3 separate regions of the Homo sapiens genome follow, and regions 1 and 3 are each linked to region 2. The links are contacts of gene promoters, found by promoter capture Hi-C in human tissues and cell types (Jung and others, 2019). All regions are on one chromosome and are shown on one strand. Each heading gives the region's core, a stretch centred on a gene start or on the middle of the fragment in contact. The rest is flanking DNA. Distances are from core to core; before and after follow the strand shown. Region 1 overlaps RSPRY1 (ring finger and SPRY domain containing 1). Region 2 holds the start of CIAPIN1 (cytokine induced apoptosis inhibitor 1). Region 3 overlaps RSPRY1 (ring finger and SPRY domain containing 1).

Region 1 (3,753 bases), core at 1,219-3,718, 220 kb before region 2:
GGTGATTCTGAATCTTTTTGCCTATTCAGACAGGGTGTGATTCTATGGAGTAAGTCATTCCTAGGATACACCCAGTTTCAAAAGATTCTAAGTCTCTGCATAGTGCCTCTTACTTGAATTCTTGCTGCTTAGGTTTCCATTTTAAAAGGCTGGCCACTGGGCTCAATGTTAGGTCATTAAAATAAGCTTAAGGATAGTTCTGTTCAGGTAACCTACAGAACAGTTTGTCTTGTTGTATTGTATATTTTTATGGAGGCTTAGGAGGAGCAACTCTCCAAGGGTGTACTCTGATTTATCTAAAATATCTTTTGCCTTTTGGCCAGGCGCAGTGGCTCACACCTGTAATCCCAGCACTTTGGGAGGCTGAGGTGGGTGGATCACTTAAGGTCAGGAGTTTGACTGGCCAACATGGTGAAACCCCGTCTCTACTGAATATAAAAAATTAGCTGGGCGTGGTGGCGGGCGCCTGTAATCCCAGCTACTCGGGAGGCTGAGGCAGGAGAATTGCTGGAATATGGGAGGCAGAGGTTGCACTGAGCCCAGATAGTGCCACTGCACTCTAGCCTGGGCGATAGAGTGAGACTCTGTCTCAAAAATAAATAAATAAATAAATATCTTTTGCTTTTTTGTGAGTGTCTGTCATGTGACACTTTTGTGAGGTCTTTCACATATTTATCTTTAATCTTTTTGAGAGTTTGGAAAGGTATTATCCTGCCATTTAAAGATGAGGAAAATCAAGTTGAGAGAAATTAAGAAACTTCCCCAAAGCCATGTAGTCTCCAGCTGCTAGAGATTTCAGGCCAGGATAGCCCATGCTCCTTCCCCTGTTGAAGCATCTGCCTTCGAGAAAATGACTCTGGCTATCTCAGACAGAAAAGGAATGATTTAGAAGCCTTTCCGGAGCCTCCAGATTATGGAGAAGTTTTGGAACTAGACAGGCTCCAAGGCTGTCAGGGCCAAGAAACAGGAAGTACAATAGCCGGTGTTTTAGGGAAACGATCTGGCCAGCATGCAGCCACCATTGCTGCTGGAAATCCATCCTAACTATCCCTCTGTTTGGGGTCACTTGCACCATACTGAGTGTTTGATGGGAAGGTCCAGCTGGCCAAGCCTAGGTCATATCTTACCTTTCCACTTCCAAAGGAGGAGGCAGAACACTGTCTTCATACATTTCCCTTAACAGGAAACGGTTGGGATGCCCTACAGCAGGAAAAAGGAGAGTGTCCACCACGTGGGAAAGAGACTCAAACTATTCCCTGAATGACAAGCTGTGGATAAACTTTCTTTTGTTTGTATTTGGTAATGTTTCCATTGCTAAAATATGCATGACCAAAAAACAGGTAGTTCAAGATAAATACCAAGCTAACCACTCTATTCTCTCATTTATCTGTCCTAGCCAATGGAAACCAAAATTAATCCTGCTGGGAACATTTTGAGCTGAGAGAGGGTGTAGGACATCTAGGTTGTTCTCTGAGATGTAAGCTTAAGAGATTTTTAAAGTGCATCTCTGCTAGGCAGAGGCATCTTCTCCTTAAATCTGTAGATGCTGCTCTGTAGTTAAAGTTATTAGAGTTCCTTCTTTGTGCTACAGTGCCACTCTGTTGTGGAACTTATCCAGTCATCAAAGACATTGCATGGTAAAGAATGTGTAATGAGTCTGCTCTTTACCAACTCATGGTGGCTAGCTTCTAGGAATTTCTTTCAAGTGTTCTGTCAAGGACTTCTCAGGACATTAGAAGGTGAAGATAGAAAAGAATTGCTTGCCTTTTACTTATGCCACAATGCCTACATTTTAGTGGTTTTTAAGTTTTTTACTTACTGACTTGTTCAGCGTTTGAAAGGTGTGGCAAGGCATTCTTTCTAGCAAGTAGTGAATTTCTTTTGTTTTGTTTTGTTTTGAGACAGTCTCGCTCTGTCACCCAGGCCAGGGTGCAGTGGCACGTGATCTCTGCTCACTGCAACCTCTGCCTCCCAGGTTCAGGCGATTCTTGTGCCTCAGCCACCAGAGTAACTGGGATTATAGGTGTGCGCCACCACACCTGGATAATTTTTGTATTTTTAGTAGAGACAGGGTTTCGCCATGTTGGCCAGGCTGGTCTCAAATGCCTGGCCTCAAGTGATCTGCCCCCCAAAGTGCTGAAATTACAGGCATGAGCCACTGCTCTTGGCAGCCTTGGGTGGTGAATTTCTAAGGCAATTAGATGCAAGCTCATTTAACTCTTGAGTAGTCTGAATAGTGAATATCAATAGCTATTTCAGAAGAGTCACTTTGGAGAGCGTTCCTCCAAATTCAGTATGTTGTAATCCAAAAATCCAGTACAAAATCATTGTTGCATTCATCAGAACTTTTTTTCCAATCTCTCTCCTCACTGTATTGTTTGCCCCATAGAAGAAGCAGGCCATCAGGACCTGATCTTACTTGGATTTGGCCATTTTCAATTTCTTTCTCTAGTAAAACTTTTCACCATTGTTCCTTAAAGATAGCAGTTGTCTGATTTGCATGCTGCTTCTATTTTTTATAAGCACTCAAAATAATTTCTTAAGATCTCAGCCACCCTTTTATTTTAACAGTTCTGTGAAATAATTGAAAGGCAGTAAGTAACAAAAAGAAGAAACTGCCAGGCGCGGTGGCTCACGCCTGTAATCCCAGCACTTTGGGAGGCCGAGGCGGGCAGATCACCTGAGGTCTAGAGTTCGAGACCAGCCTGACCAACATGGAGAAACCCCGTCCCTACTAAAAATACAAAATTAGCTGGGCCTGGTGGCGCATGCCTATAATCCCAGCTACTCAGGAGGCTGAGGCAGGAGAATCGCTTAAACCCGGGAGGCAGAGGTTGTGGTGAGCCAAGATCGCGCCATTGCACTCCAGCCTAGGCAACAAGAGTGAAACTCCATCTCAAAGAAAAAAAAAGAAGAAACTGCCAAGGACCTGTACAATCCTCAAATCAAGCTGATTTCAGAATAGCTTTTAGCTGAGTGTCCACTATAACCTTTCTCTTATCTCCAGTTTTGAAATCTCTGAATATTTGGGTATTTTGAAGTCTGCTACATGCAAGAAAGGTATTTGCCTGATCTGATCTTGTTACTGGAAAGGGTCTGGATCCAGATCCCAAGAGAGGGTTTTTGGACCTCGCGCAAGAAAGAATTTGGGGCGAATCCATAGAATAAAGTGTTTTCACAAGTTTATTAAAGAAACAGAAGAATGGCTACTCTATAGGCAGAGCAGTGGCGTGGGCTGCTCAACTGAGTATACTTAGTTATTTCTCGATTATATGCTAAACAGGGATGGATTATTCATGAGTTTTCTGGGAAAGGGACAGGCAATTCCTGGAACCAAGGGTTCCTCTCCTTTTTAGACTATATAGGGTAACTTCCAAACTGCCATGACATTGTAAAGTGTCATGGCACCTGTTAGAGTGTCTTTTAGCATGCTAATGCATTATAATTAGCATATAATGAACAGTGAAGATGACCAGAGGTCACTTTTGTTGCCATCTTGGTTTTGGTGGGTTTTGGCCAGCTTCTGGCTGGCTTCTTTATTGCATCCTGTTTTATCAGCAGGGTCTTTGTGACCTGTATCTTGTGCTGACCTCCTGTCTCATCCTGTGACTAAGAATGCCTAACCTCTTGGGAATGCAGCTGAGCAGCCCAGCAAGTCTAAGCCTCATTTTACCCTGCCCCTATTCAAGATGGAGTCTCTCTGGTTTGAATGCCTCTGACAATCTTGTGCTGATATACAAGTGTACTGACTGA
Region 2 (3,826 bases), core at 331-2,830:
GTCTAGACACTTAGACTAAGACCTTAGAGGTTTTTTTTTTTTTTTTTTTTTTTTTTTTTTTGGCAGAGTCTTGCTCTGTTGCCCAGGCTGGAGTGCAATGGCACAATCTTGGCTCACTGCAACCTCCGACTCCGGGGTTCAAGCGATTCTCCCGCCTCAGCCTCCCAAATAGCTGGGATTACAGGCACCCACCACCACACCCAGCTAATTTTTGTATTCTTTGTAGAGATGCGGTTTCGCCATGTTGCCCAGGCTGGTCTCGAACTCCTGAGCTCAAGTGATCCACACGCCGCAGCCTCCCAAAGTGCTGGGATTACAGGCATGAGCCTGGCCCAGAATTTTTTTTAAAAAGTGAGAATCAACAATGAAACAGGAACGTCTCCAGGCATTTGGCGTGTGTCAGGAATTAGGGTTTCAGAAAGGATACCCAAATGTTAGTTTCCACAGGAAAGGCTCATTCAAAGATGGATGGATAGAACTCAGAAACAAATCCTTATGGAGAGGAGTGTTTTACCTAAAACCAGAAATATGGATCTAAAATTTTAACCTTTGGGGTAAGTTTTGGCTTAGGAGGTCTTCCCCGCACCCGTGCAGGGGGGAGCCGGATATTCTGAAAAGACTAGATTTGACAAGGGGTGTGCAAAGCACAACTTTAACAGACACAATGATGGGGTCTGACTGCAAACACAAAATCGACAGAATCACATGCTCTTGTCGTCAGTTACTCTTAGCCCAAAAACCGTTTACTTCTTCCTACTAAGCCTTCTCTGATGACACCCCCGTGAAGTGCTCTGTTAGTGGCTAGACCGTGACCTCCTTGAGCCATCCAGAGCTTGGCACTCAGTAATGTCAGAATGAAGGGCACCAGCCTTTCCCGAACTTGCAGATCCTACAAATCACCCGAGGGAGTGGTTAAAATGAGATTCCTGGACCACACCCAGACCCACTCAATCAATCCTTCTGGACAAAGGCCTAGCTGTCTGTTCTAGTAACAAGCATCCTTCCGATCTGGATACTTAATTATATCAACTCAACACGCTGGGGGTTCGGACAAGTTGCAGGTTCGAAATTACAATCGTGAGCTCAGGTACCCCCCGACTCCAAGGCTTTCGTGCTTTGCTGCCAGGAACCCCCAGGGACCAAAACGTCACGGGGACTGAGGCCCAAGGTCACAACGATTGGCTACTGGTAGGACCGGGTCTCAGAACCAGGTCTCCCCGATCCCAAGCTCGGAGCCGTTTCTCCTCAGCGTGGTGTCCCCGGGGCCTCAGAGTAGGGCCGGCTGCGCAAGGGACGAGGCAGCCGGGGAACGGCAGAAATTCCCAGTCAGGACCCCAGGGAGGTTAGGGCCGGCCCTGGCCCCTCACACCGACTTCTCAGGAATAAACCAGCCGGGGCTTTCAGCGGGGCGGCCGTGGCTGCGTTCCCATCGAGGAACGGGGTGGGAAGAGAAAATGAGAGGATGTGGGAACGAGGGTGGGCCGGGAGGGGACAGTTGAGGGAGCTCTGGCGCTCAGCTGGCCCCCACCACTCTCACCTGCCGCCTGGGCTCGCTCCCGGCTTCTCTCCAGCCGTCGACTCCACGCCTTGCGCCTCTCGCGAGAGGAGGAGGCTCCACGGAGCGACGACTTCCGCCCTCCTTAGGGCCGTGGTCCCGTAGCTACCGGTCGCGTCGCCGTGGGCGACGTGCCCGCTTCCAAAATGGCGGCGGCGGCGGTATCTGGTGCGCTTGGCCGGGCGGGCTGGAGGCTCCTGCAGCTGCGATGCCTGCCCGGTGAGGGGGCTGCCAAGCCGGGGAGAGGCGGGGAGCGCGGAGGGGGCGCGAGGCCGGCTTCAGCTGGGTTCGACGGTGGGGGGAAGAGGCCGTTGGGGCGGCCCACGAGCAAGGTGAGGTGAAGGGCATCGGCGCGGGCTCGGGCGAGCCGCCTGGCTAGCTTCGGCCCTGCTCCGCTGTCTGTGAGGGGCAGATGCAGCGGGGCAGGGCCTGTCACCCCCATTTCATGGAGTTGGCAGAGCCTCAGAGAGGGCTCGGGGTACGAAAGTCACGCAGCCTGAGCCTGTTGGTTACAGAACTGGCAGTCGCAGACCCATTCTCAAGTCCATTGCCAAGTCCACTGGAAGGACAGGTGGACACGGCCACAGAGAGCCTAGTCCATTGTTTCCCGAAAGCCAGCCGTTTCCTCACCACTTCACGAATTCTGTGATACTCTCTTACCACCTTTGCCACTATGTACTCAGTATTTTTATTTTTAAATAGGAGTTCTTAAAGAGGAAACTTTATATCATTGTCATAAATGGAAAACTAATATCGCCTTCCTTAATTAGAACGTATGCATTAACACTTTAGCATACATACATAACTGATGAAACGTTCACCTGTATTTCACCTAAAATCTTCTCATGACCCTCAGTGGTACTACAGTCATACTTTGCATCTGCTCCTTCCTTTTCAAAGTTTTGCGGATATTTGTGCCGTATCTTTCAGTACATGTATTAAAATATTGATATTTTGGCACATACTATTCTGTTTCTTTTTTTTCTTTTTTTTTTTTTTCTGAGACAGGGTCTGGCTCCTCAGCCTCCCAAGGAGCTGGGACTACAAGTGCGTGCCACCCTACTTGGCTTAATTTTGTTGTTGAGACAGAGTCTCACTCTGTCACCCAGGCTGGAGTGCAGTGGTACAATCTCGGCTCACTGCAGCCTCTACCTCCTGGGTTCAAGTGATTCTCCTGCCTCAGCCTTCCTAGTAGCTGGGGTTGTGCCACCATGCCCAGCTAATTTTTTATTTTTAGTAGACGGGGTTTCACCATGTTGGCCAGGCTAGTCCAAAACTCCTGACCTCAAGTTATCTGCCTGCCTCAGCCTCCCAAAGTGTTGGGATTACAGGTATGAGCCACCGCCTAGCCCCCTTTTGTTGTATTTATACAAAATTCCAAACTAAAGATGTGTAGTAAAAGTAATGTCTATGACCCCGCAAATCCACCAAGAGAAATGAAGGTATGTGTCTACAAAAAAGTTAGTACAAGTATATTCATAGCAATTTTATTCATAGTAGCCAAACACAGAAACAGTCCAGTTGTCTAGCAACAGAATAGTATTTTTTTTATGGAATACTATTCTGCAATAAAAACTAAAAATCAGTCAAAGAGAAAGCTGGACACTAAAGTGATAAGGACCATTTTTAATCAGTAATAACTATTGCAATAGGGAAAAGAGTCTAGCATGAACGGAGCCCAACCTTGAGTTTAGAGCATGCAGAAGTCACTGGGTGTTTCAAAGAAAAAATGAGGGAGGAGGGAGGAAGGCAGGTGGGGACTCAGTAGAGTCAGGATAGTGAATAATTATAAATAAGATTGGTCTGCTAGCTGGCAGTTAACAAAGTTAGGATTCTGTTTTCCCACAGGGAGACAAGCCCTATCCTTCTTAAGTGTTAGCCTGAACAAACAGTAAAATTTTTTTTGACAGCCTTGAGTTTTCTCAGGCAGGCACTTTAAAGGGGGGTAGGGTTATCTTAAGGGATGTGGCCCTGAGTGATGCTTATGTTAGTGTGTGTTCAAGTCTTTATAGGCCAAGGTTGAGGCCTAGATAAGAAGAGGGCTCAGAGGAGCCTGGTTAGAGCCTGATCAAGGAGAGAATCTTTGCCAGATATACTGATAGGCATAAAAATATGGATCAATCTCAAAAATATACTAAGTGGTCCAGGTGTGGTGGCTCACACCTGTAATCCCAGCACTTTGGGAAGCTGAGGTGGGAGGGTTGCTTGAGCCGAGGAGTTCAAGACCATCTTGGGCAACATAGCAAGACTCTGTCTCTATTTAAACTTAAA
Region 3 (4,222 bases), core at 223-2,722, 240 kb before region 2:
AGGCTGGCGGATCACTCGCGGTTAGGAGCTGGAGACCAGCCCGGCCAACACAGCGAAACCCCGTCTCCACCAAAAAAATACGAAAACCAGTCAGGCGTGGCGGTGCGCGCCTGCAATCGCAGGCACTCGGCAGGCTGAGGCAGGAGAATCAGGCAGGGAGTTTGCAGTGAGCCGAGATGGCAGCAGTACAGTCCAGCTTTGGCTTGGCATCAGGGGGAGACCGTGGAAAGAGAGAGAGAGGGAGAGGGAGAGGAGGGAGAGGGAGAGGAGCAGTTTACTCATTTTGAAATAGGAATATTAAAGCTTATCTCAGAGGGGCCGAGCAGGATAGCTCACACCCGTAATCCCAATACTTGGGAGGCCAAGATGAGAGGATTATTTGAGGCTAGGAGTTCAAAACCAGTCTGGGGAACATAGCAAGACCCCATCTCTAAAAAAATAAAAAATAAAAAATCTTGTCTCAGAGGGAAACTATGAACACCAAATAAAGTAAGTGCAATTGTTACGGGGGGTGGGTGGCGGGGGTCCTTGTTCTTAGAACTCCCAAGATGGTGGCAGGCCACTTCCAAGATGGCGGCAAGCCTCTTGTTCTCTATCAGTGAAATTTCTGTGAGAGGACCCAGAGCATAGCTTCTTAAATGTTGCTTTTTCATCTTTCTCAGAAACCAGCATAATTTATAAGATCTGTAGAAATTCATTTCAGGGACCCTTTAAAGAATTATTCCTATTTCTGATTTCTGTTTCCTCTATTCTCTTAAGCATTGAAATCTCTTAGTTATCTACCCTCTAAAGCGAATCATACTCTGATCCCCACAGTAATGGCAATGTTGTTACTTCGACTCTGCTGGTTTAGAATGTGTTCTTTTAAAAAGCTATTTCCAGCTGGTCCTTGCATCATACTCCTACCTATATACTTCAGTCACATCCTTTTCAGTACAACCTCCAAATTTTGAAGACAGCCCGAGTGGTTTGGGGGAACCAAGAACATCTGTGGTATCACTTGGCCCAGCCATTGCTGTCTTAATAGTGAAAACGTCTGTTGCCTCTCATTTCCTTTATCCTTTTCTTTCTCCTGTCTTGTTCCATCCCATTCCATTCTTTTCTCTCCCTTCCCTTTGCCTCCTCCCTCTTTATATATATTTTATTACATATGATTATATATATATATATATATATATATATATCTGAAGACTTTCTGTCTCCATTTTTCTCTTTTTCTTCTATGTTTTCCCTGTAGCAGTAATCAAACTGGGAAAATAAAAAGAATTTTGCCATGAATCTGTCTAAAATAATGGAAATAGGCTGGGCACAGTGGCTCACACCTGTAATCCCAGCACTTTGGGAGGCCGAGGTGGGCAGATAGCCTGAGGTCAGGAGTTTGTGGCCAACATGGTGAAACCCCGTCTCTACTAAAAATATAAAAACTGGCTGGGTGTGGTGGCAGCACCTGTAGTCCCAGTTACTCGAGAGGCTGAGGTAGGAGAATTGCTTGAACCCAGGAGGTGGAGGTTGCAGTGAGCTAAGATCATACCACTGCACTCCAGCCTGGGTGATAGAGCGAGACTCCTCAAAAATAAGTAAATAAATAAACAAATAAAATAATGGGAGTAATATTTCTCTTCTAATTCCACTGAATTATAAATTTTGTTTATATTATTCCTGGTCAGTGCTCAAGGTATGAGGAATTAATTGTAACTAGCCAGATGTTGTGTAGAGACTACACACTAGCATAGTCTATTCCTTATGTGGCCTGTTCTCCAGCTGTCAGCCTGTTTTGTTTGTTTGTTTGTTTTTTTACTTTTTGCTACCAGCCCATGTAAGTCTCCTATTTCTAAATCTTTACTTCCTTCCAGAATCTAACCAGATTTTACCAGCTTCTTGAAGAGCTGGTTCTTTCATTAGGTTTTTAATGATAAACATACTTTGTGGGATGAGAATGGCCATCCATGAATTCCTGGAGGGCAGGAACTATTCCTTACTCATCTTTATTCTCCTAGTCCAGCGTGGTACCTGGCACAAGGTCCTTAGTCAGTATTTTCAGGCAAAGATAAATTGGTGCATCTTATTCTGAACTTTGTAATAGACATGTGCAACAAACTGATCATTGTGAAAATACAACTTTTGTGATATCAGTTTTCCTTTCCCAAAACAAAGCCTTGCTTACATAACAGAAACACTTTGCAACAACTTGTATGAATTCTGTCAGTTCTTGAGTGAGCTTCCAATGGGAAACTCTATCCTTTTATTCTCCTTGATATCAAATGGTGCTATCATATTTGTATCATAACTTTTTTTTAACAACAAACGTCTGTAATTATTTTATTTAAAACTTGTTAAATTATCCTATGGGTTTAAAGAAAGGAGTTAATTCATTTTTTTAAAGATTTTTCTCTTTTTAACACCTACCTCTTACACAGAAAGACAACTCTTTTTTTATGATAAAAGGAGCCCTTGAAAAAAAATGCACACATCCTTCTAATGTATTTCTATATAGACAGGAAAAACTATACATGTGGTTTTAAAAAAATCAATGATAACTCCTCTGGTCTATAAGAATATGGTTTGGCAATCAACTTTGTAACAGAATGATAAAAAGAAATTATTGATTGATTGCGAATTCTGTTATCCAAAGCTATCTCTTTGTATTGGAAACCTATAAAAATAACCAAAGATAATTCTTCATTAGAATCCTAATATCTATAAAATCAGACTAGGAAAATTTGAGTAATTAAGTGGTCAAGAATCTTTTATTCATTTTCCTTTTTCTCATTTTCTTTTAGAACTGCCATTGGATGTCCAGAATCCCCTGTAGTTGATAATGTTGGGAATAAGCTCTGCAACTTTCTTTGGCATTCAGTTGTTAAAAACAAATAGGATGCAAATTCCTCAACTCCAGGTTATGAAAACAGTACTTGGAAAACTGAAAACTACCTAAATGATCGTCTTTGGTTGGGCCGTGTTCTTAGCGAGCAGAAGCCTTGGCCAGGGTCTGTTGTTGACTCTCGAAGAGCACATAGCCCACTTCCTAGGGACTGGAGGTGCCGCTACTACCATGGGTAATTCCTGTATCTGCCGAGATGACAGTGGAACAGATGACAGTGTTGACACCCAACAGCAACAGGCCGAGAACAGTGCAGTACCCACTGCTGACACAAGGAGCCAACCACGGGACCCTGTTCGGCCACCAAGGAGGGGCCGAGGACCTCATGAGCCAAGGAGAAAGAAACAAAATGTGGATGGGCTAGTGTTGGACACACTGGCAGTAATACGGACTCTTGTAGATAAGTAAGTATCTGACTCACGGTCACCTCCAGTGGAATGAAAAGTGTTCTGCCCGGAACCATGACTTTAGGACTCCTTCAGTTCCTTTAGGACATACTCGCCAAGCCTTGTGCTCACAGGGCAAAGGAGAATATTTTAATGCTCCGCTGATGGCAGAGTAAATGATAAGATTTGATGTTTTTGCTTGCTGTCATCTACTTTGTCTGGAAATGTCTAAATGTTTCTGTAGCAGAAAACACGATAAAGCTATGATCTTTATTAGAGAATAGAGTAAATATGGAGTGAGTTTATGTTGCTAGCTACAATAGGAAATGGTTTCATGAAGGCTCACTGTTAATGGTACATGCCTGTCTATTCCACTGACCTCAGATTCAAGGTAAGTTGTTTTACCAAGAACATGGCTACAGGCAACTTCTCTTGGCAACATAAGGACTAAGGTCAAGGAGAGTTTTCATTATCCTTTATTTGATCCTTTATCCCTTATTTGACTATCTTTAATCCATTTAGGAAGCTTGTCAGTTGATACTGCAAGGCACACCTGTACCTGTTTTGTCTTTTCCTCTGCTTTGTCTACCTCTAAATACAAAATCATAGATTGAATAACAGTGAAATTAAAGGGCATCCAAGTAGAAAAAAACATTTAACTTAAGGTTGTATATTTCAGTAGTTAAGAGCACAAAGCTTAGAACCATGATGGGCCTAGCTCAAGTTCTGGCCCAGTGCCTTACTAACTGCATGACATTGGGTAAGTTACTTCTTGAAGCCTCAGATTCCTCATCTGTAAATGGGGGGATAATATTGTTCCCACAAGGATTATCATGAGATAATGTACATAAGGCATTCAGTGTGGAGCTTTGTACTTAACAGTTGCTCAGTAGATGGTAGTATTTTTTAAAAAGTTACTTATGTGTTCTTTTTGCTTCAGGCCCTGCTAGTAAAT

Evidence for each region. Contacts are between HindIII fragments. The study calls those that stand out against the background at their distance.
Region 1: a fragment that was not itself captured here is called in contact with the fragment with the promoter of CIAPIN1 in region 2 in 3 of the 25 tissues and cell types used here (adrenal gland, liver and lymphoblastoid cells).
Region 3: a fragment that was not itself captured here is called in contact with the fragment with the promoter of CIAPIN1 in region 2 in 1 of the 25 tissues and cell types used here (liver).

What each region holds. Positions count from the first base shown.
Region 1 is chr16:57,223,181-57,226,933 of GRCh38, forward strand. All of the region lies in intron 10 of RSPRY1 (ring finger and SPRY domain containing 1), which reads left to right. Among named protein-coding and RNA genes, the nearest start is that of ARL2BP, 20 kb to the right of the region's middle. The HindIII fragment of the contact is 5,127 bases long and covers 1-3,753 here.
Region 2 is chr16:57,445,805-57,449,630 of GRCh38, forward strand. It overlaps CIAPIN1 (cytokine induced apoptosis inhibitor 1), which reads right to left and starts at 1,581. Exons shown (of 9, transcript NM_020313.4): 1 at 1,538-1,581. It overlaps COQ9 (coenzyme Q9), which reads left to right and starts at 1,675. Exons shown (of 9, transcript NM_020312.4): 1 at 1,675-1,774. The coding sequence starts at 1,702. RefSeq lists an enhancer at 1,493-1,787. The HindIII fragment of the contact is 8,205 bases long and covers 1-3,826 here.
Region 3 is chr16:57,201,724-57,205,945 of GRCh38, forward strand. RSPRY1 (ring finger and SPRY domain containing 1) reads left to right here. Exons shown (of 15, transcript NM_133368.3): 2 at 2,781-3,285. The coding sequence starts at 2,936. Among named protein-coding and RNA genes, the nearest start is that of RSPRY1, 18 kb to the left of the region's middle. The HindIII fragment of the contact is 4,812 bases long and covers 1-3,878 here.